Linked DNA regions of Homo sapiens: region 2 is linked to region 1. The links are contacts of gene promoters, found by promoter capture Hi-C in blood cells and fetal thymus (Javierre and others, 2016). All regions are on one chromosome and are shown on one strand. Each heading gives the region's core, a stretch centred on a gene start or on the middle of the fragment in contact. The rest is flanking DNA. Distances are from core to core; before and after follow the strand shown. Region 1 holds the start of ENKD1 (enkurin domain containing 1). Region 2 overlaps NFATC3 (nuclear factor of activated T cells 3).

The links. The method cuts DNA at HindIII sites, captures the fragments that hold promoters and counts their contacts. A CHiCAGO score of 5 or more calls a contact.
Region 2: a fragment that was not itself captured here is called in contact with the fragment with the promoter of ENKD1 in region 1 in 1 of 17 cell types (neutrophils); the score reaches 5.8 in neutrophils.

What each region holds. Positions count from the first base shown.
Region 1 is chr16:67,665,331-67,668,161 of GRCh38, forward strand. ENKD1 (enkurin domain containing 1) reads right to left here and starts at 1,420. Exons shown (of 7, transcript NM_032140.3): 1 at 1,028-1,420; 2 at 741-935. The coding sequence starts at 1,112. It overlaps C16orf86 (chromosome 16 open reading frame 86), which reads left to right and starts at 1,484. Exons shown (of 4, transcript NM_001012984.3): 1 at 1,484-1,742; 2 at 1,966-2,195; 3 at 2,548-2,768. The coding sequence starts at 1,641. RefSeq lists silencers at 992-1,261, 1,602-1,651, 1,672-1,721, 1,802-1,851. The HindIII fragment of the contact is 12,585 bases long and covers 1-2,831 here.
Region 2 is chr16:68,094,055-68,096,885 of GRCh38, forward strand. The region is part of intron 1 of NFATC3 (nuclear factor of activated T cells 3); the gene reads left to right. Among named protein-coding and RNA genes, the nearest start is that of NFATC3, 10 kb to the left of the region's middle. RefSeq lists a silencer at 1-26. The HindIII fragment of the contact is 6,898 bases long and covers 1-2,831 here.

The DNA.
Region 1 (2,831 bases), core at 170-2,669:
CTTCCTCATGTAGTAAGTATCACAGGATGATTTTCTCCATTATTATTATTATTATTATTATTTGAGACAGGGTCTCACTCTGTCACCCAGGCTGGAGTACAGTGGCATGATCATAGCTCACTGTAGCCTCAACCTCCCCGGCTACCTCAGCCTGCCGAGTAGCTGGGATTACAGACACACTCCACCATGCCAGCCTGATTTTTGTATTTTTTGTAGAGATGGGGTTTCACCATGTTGGCCAGGCTGGTCTTCAACTCCTGGACTCAAGTGATCTGCCCGCCTGGGCCTCCCAAAGTGCTGGGATTCCAGGAGTGAGCCACTGCGCCCAGGTGATTTCCTCCATTATTATAGTGAAGTACACCATTGAAGTACACCATAGATCATCTCATATATGACATTCATCTCTTGATCTTTGTATCCCACCTTGACTCAGTGATGGCTCATGCTTATCTTCAGCCCTGTGTTCTAGCATCTATATGGCCTGGCACACAGTAGGCACTCAACAAACAAATTTAATGGGTAACAAATGCATAAAGCAGAGCTAGGGCTTCGTGGGAACTACCTCATTCAGTTCACCTCCTTCGAGAAGGTAGCATATTTCTCCCCCTTTTATAGTTGGGGAAACTGAGACTCAAGAGATGCAAAGCCTGGGCCCACGTCAGGGTGGAAAGAGCAGCTGCTTTTGATCTCTTTCCACCCCGCACTGCCTCTCTGTCCCTTCTTCCATTCCTGGGACTTACTCTTGAGAGAGGCCCCAGGACCTAGGGAGATCCCCTCGAGTTGCAACAGCACGTCCCCGACGCCGCGCTGGCCGCGCTCCAGGATCTCTCCGGCACCGGGACCGATGCAGGGGCCACGGGGAGCGGTGGTGTCCAGGGCCCGGTCGGAAGTCAGCAAGTCCAGCTTCAGCGCGTTTCCCTCGAGGCGCCCTTGAGCTGTGGGGCGGAGCCGGGCGGAGTCCGGGGCTCAGAGGTGGAGCCAGGGCCGACCCCTGAGCCTCGCACCACCGCCAAGCCCCCGGACTCACCCGAGGTCGGCCGCCTGTAGTTGTCAGGACAGAGCGTCGGGTCTGGGGGGATGGGCCCCGAGATGCGGGACGGGCCCTCGCACATGCCGCCGGCGCCGCCCAGCAACGGTGCCCCGAGGCCTGCAGGGCTGTTTACCTCCCTCCCCGGGCCCCCTTCCCCAACCCCGGGCCCCCTCCCTCGCCCGGCACCCTGACCCTGGCGTGCCCGCCACTCCCGGGCCCCTGCCGGTCCCCGCCTGGGCCCCGGCCTCGCTCGCCACCTCCGCGACCTCTGCTCCCAGCCCACTTCTCGGTCCCGCTCGCGGCCTCTCCCCCGCGGCACTCGGGCAGGGGCTCACTCGAGAGGTTTTGCCGCCAGCCGCTGCCACCCGACGGGACTTGTTGTTGCCGGGCAACCGTGGCTTCCGTCCCCGGGGTCAGGGCCCACTGACCCCGGCGCAAAGCGTCCTGGGGCTTGTAGTTTCGGCCGAGGGTGGGCTCCGCGGTCGCCGGTTTCTCTTCCCAGCTCTGCCCTCGCTTGCTGGCCGGTCTCCGGGGTCAGCGCGGGGCCACCATCCAGCCCCTTGGGGCCCGCCCCAAGCAGCTGTCGAGGACGCACTCAGCCTGCGCAGCCATGGCCTCGGCAGGGGCGGAGAGGCGGCCGGGGGTCCAGGAGGCGACGGTCGTGGGGCAGGGACAGCTCACGGAGGAGCCCGGCAGCGCTCAGACCTCCGAGGTGACCGTCAGGCTGTTTAACCTTCAAACACAGGGCCGCAGCGCTCTGAGAGGTGGAACTGAGCGCCCCGACCCGCTAACTGCCAGGCTGGGCCCTCCAGGCGGGGAGGGGCACAGGCTGGTGTCCTTATTCCCGTTTCGGTGTCTAACGTTAGGTGTTCAGTGACGGATCCCTATGTCCTTTGCCCGGCCATGGTGACCGATGGCCTGTGTGTCATCTCTAGTGTCCAGTGGCGGGAGACCAGTTCCTGGTGCCTGCCCATGAGGCCCGCGGAACCCAGAGTGAAGACCAGCGCCCAGCAGGCGCAGCTTCGGAGTCGGAGCTCCAGGAGGAAGGACCCAAGCTGGGGGAGGAGCGGCCCAAGCCGCATGCCGGGGCGCTAGAGGAGAGAGGCCCCAGGCCCGTGGTCTCCATTGTGAGGCCCCGTCATGGTCCAAAGAGAAAGCCTGTCAAGTGAGGGGGCTCTCGGGGGGAAGGAGCTGCAGCCCCGGGGTTGGGGCACACACCACAGTAGGATTCCTAAATCCTGCACTCCTGCAGGGAGGATTCTCGTCCCCAGCCACTACCATCACTCTCCTCCCGTTCCTCAAGAGCCCCCGTGTAGGGAGCAGCAGGAGAGTGGGAGCTTCAGGGCTTGTAGGGGCCTGGGCTCACTGGCCTCTAAGCCTCTTGGGCCTGGGGTCTCATTGACCAGGAACGGGACAGGCGTCGAGCCCTGGGGCTGTGGGCAGGCTGGGCTATTCCCTGGGCCAGGGAATGGGAGCCAGGGCTGGAGCCTGGCTCAAGTCTCTTGTCCCTGGCTCAGGTCTCTCAGCCTCCCGGGCCTTCGTGCCCATCTTAAGGCTGAAGCTGAGCTGCCACCCAAGCTGCCGCTGCAGGAGGAGGAGCCAGAGGACAGCCAGAGTGAGCCCTCACCATCTGCCAAACAGCACAAAAAAGCCAAGAAGCGCAAGAGCCTGGGGGCTCCCGTGCTCCACGCTGTGGCCAGCATGGTGTCTGCACCCTTAGAGACATTGAGGCTGGAGCGTGAGTGGCAGTCCCTGGACTGTTCCTTCTCCCCCTGCCTGTGGGGCCCGACATGGCACAACC
Region 2 (2,831 bases), core at 97-2,596, 430 kb after region 1:
ACCAATAGAGGGTACTGTATCGCTATATCGCTAACTGTGCTAGACCCAAATTTAGCTCTTTTGGGCCTTTTCTCTTTGCTGCTTTGTGGATCTGGAGGTCAAGAGGTGATATCATTTTAGGTTTTAAGGCAGTTTACTCTAAGGAGAAATTGGCCTTTGTCTTTGGCAGCCCCCCTCTCCGCCCATGTTGTCTTGATTAGGGTCTGATTTGTCATCTTGCAGGCTGTTTTGCTTTTAAAGTTTAAAGCGTTTAGATCTGTCGTCAAAATTGCCCTAAACCTGAATGAGGAAAAATTCAGAATTTTAAAAATGCTCAATAGTCAGGGTAGTTTCATTTTTCAAGGTTAACATTTTGCTTTCACATGTTCAAAAAAAAAAAAATGAGTACTATTTATTTGATTGAATTTAGGATGCAAGGAGAACTACCTTCTATAGCCACTAGGACTGATACACATTTTTTTCCTTGATATTTTGACCAATTTGCCATCTGCCATTTATTCTTCTCTCTCAAGATCAGTACTCTTTTGGATTTTCTCTCTCTCTTGTACATACCCAGTTGTCTCTGAGTTTCACCAGAACTCTCCCTTTGAGAGCAAAGGCAAGAAAGCTCTTTTGTCATACATGTTACCTAGTAAATGTTGGCTGATCATGGTTTTAGCACTTCTGTTGACTTTTTAATCATCCGATTACTATTTGAAATAAATAGTAAAATACTCTTAATCTTCTAGTTTAAATATATGCAAAATAGTTACATTTGGATTGATATTTGCTGAGGGGAAGGAATGAGACACGGATGCTGGCTTCACACAGCTCTTTTCTTTTTAAGAGTGACGAAGGACTTTTCCAGAAGCCTTCAGCAAACTTAACCTTGCGTTTCATTGACCAAAACTGGGTTACATTCCCTTTCCTAAATTAGTTACTGGTAAAGATGAGTGGAATTATTCTTAGCCAACCAGACCTATGCCTTGGCCTGAGGATATGGTTGGCTTCCCCAAAACACAAGGCTGCATGGGAGAGGAGTGGATAGAAGGATAGAAAATCTGTTAGGGAGGAAGAAAGAGAAAATGGATGCTGGGAGGGGGTCAACCAAAAGAATTGTCTGTGCTTACTATCCACAGTATTCTAGCAACTGAGGGACTTAAAAAAAATTTTTTTTTTTTGAGAGAGAATCTCACTCTATTTCCCAGGCTGGAGTGCAACCTCTGCCTCCTGGGTTCAGGTGATTGTGATGCCTCAGCCTCTCAAGTAGCTGAAGTAGCTGGGATTACAGGTGTGCACCACATGCCCAGCTAATTTTTTTTTTTTTTTTTTTTTTTGAGACAGAGTCTCACTCTGTCACCTAGGCTGGAGCACAGTGGCACAATCTCTGCTCACTGCAACTTCCACCTCCCAGGTTCAAGTGATTTTCCTGCCTCATGCCTCCCAAGTAGCTGGGATTACAGATGTGTGTCACCGTGCCTGGCTAATTTTTGTATTCTTAGTAGAGACAGGGTTTCACCATGTTGGACACGCTGGTCTTGAACTCCCTACCTCAGGTGATCCGCCTGCCTCGGCCTCCCAAAGTGCTGGGATTATAGGCATGAGCCCCTGTGCCCAGCCAGTTGAGGGACTTTATAATGTAAACCTGACTTTTGTTATGCAGTTACTTTCTCTGGCACTTGCTTTTTCTTTTGCTTTGTCAGAGTCCTTGGGGATGGGCATGGGAGTTGATAGAGGTGCCAAGAAAGAGAAGTATGGCTATTGATCCTGGATTAATAACAGTGGGGTTGGTGTCTTGATGGGTGGGAGATCTGGGACACAAAATTCATTTTTGTTGTGTGGTTCAGGTGGAACCTGATGATTATGCAGACATACAGAAGCATAAAGACAGTGTCAAATCTGATTTGTCAAAATTGAGATAGTAAAGTGTTTTTTAAATGCTTATTTTATTTTATTTCTTAAAATTTATTTTGAGACAGGGTCTCACTTTGTTGCCCAGGCTGGAGTTCAGTGGCTCAATCATAGATCACTGCAGTCTTAACTCAGCCTCCCAAGTAGCTCAAACCACAGGTGCTTGCCACCATGCCCAGCTAATTTTTAAAAATTGTTTTTGATAGAGACGGAGTCTTTCTGTGTTGCCCAGGCCAGTCTCAAACTCCTGGGCCTGAGCAGTCCTCCCACCTTGGCCTCCCAATGTACTGGGATTACAGGTGTGAGCCACCATGCCCACGCTAAAAATTCTTTTTAAAGTGCTTTGTTTCATTCTTTCGAAGGCTCATCTGAAAGAAACTAGCTGTTGTTAAAGGATAAAATAGAAGAATATGTAGAAGAAGAGAAAGTAGTAACCAGAGGGGAACATTGTATGAGATCTTAGAGTAACTGAGCTGGAAGGGACCTCAAGAAAGTCCTCTTCCATTAAGTGGGTAAATATACTAAATCATTTAATCTTTTAATTAAGTTTTGTTAAGTGTCAGTATTATTATGTGCCAAATACTGGTAATACAAATTAAATATAATTCAGTCTATTGGAGTAGACATATAAATGACTACAACAATATTAATATAACAGAGGTACGGAGAAGGGCCTCTGAGCATATAATGACACAGATTAACTCTGAGTAGAGAGGTCAGAGAAGAGTACAGTTGAGCAGAATCCAGTGGGATGAGTTCACCAGGTGGCTAAGGGAGGACATAACATTTCAGGCCAGCCGATTATCACACCCAAAGACAGGTTAAAGAGCATGGTCCTTTAATTTGGAAAGTGGAAGATCAGGATTCTGTTGTGTCCAGATGTGGCTGGAGAGGGACAGACTATTATACTGTATTGAGGAGTTTGGATTTTAGTTTGAAGA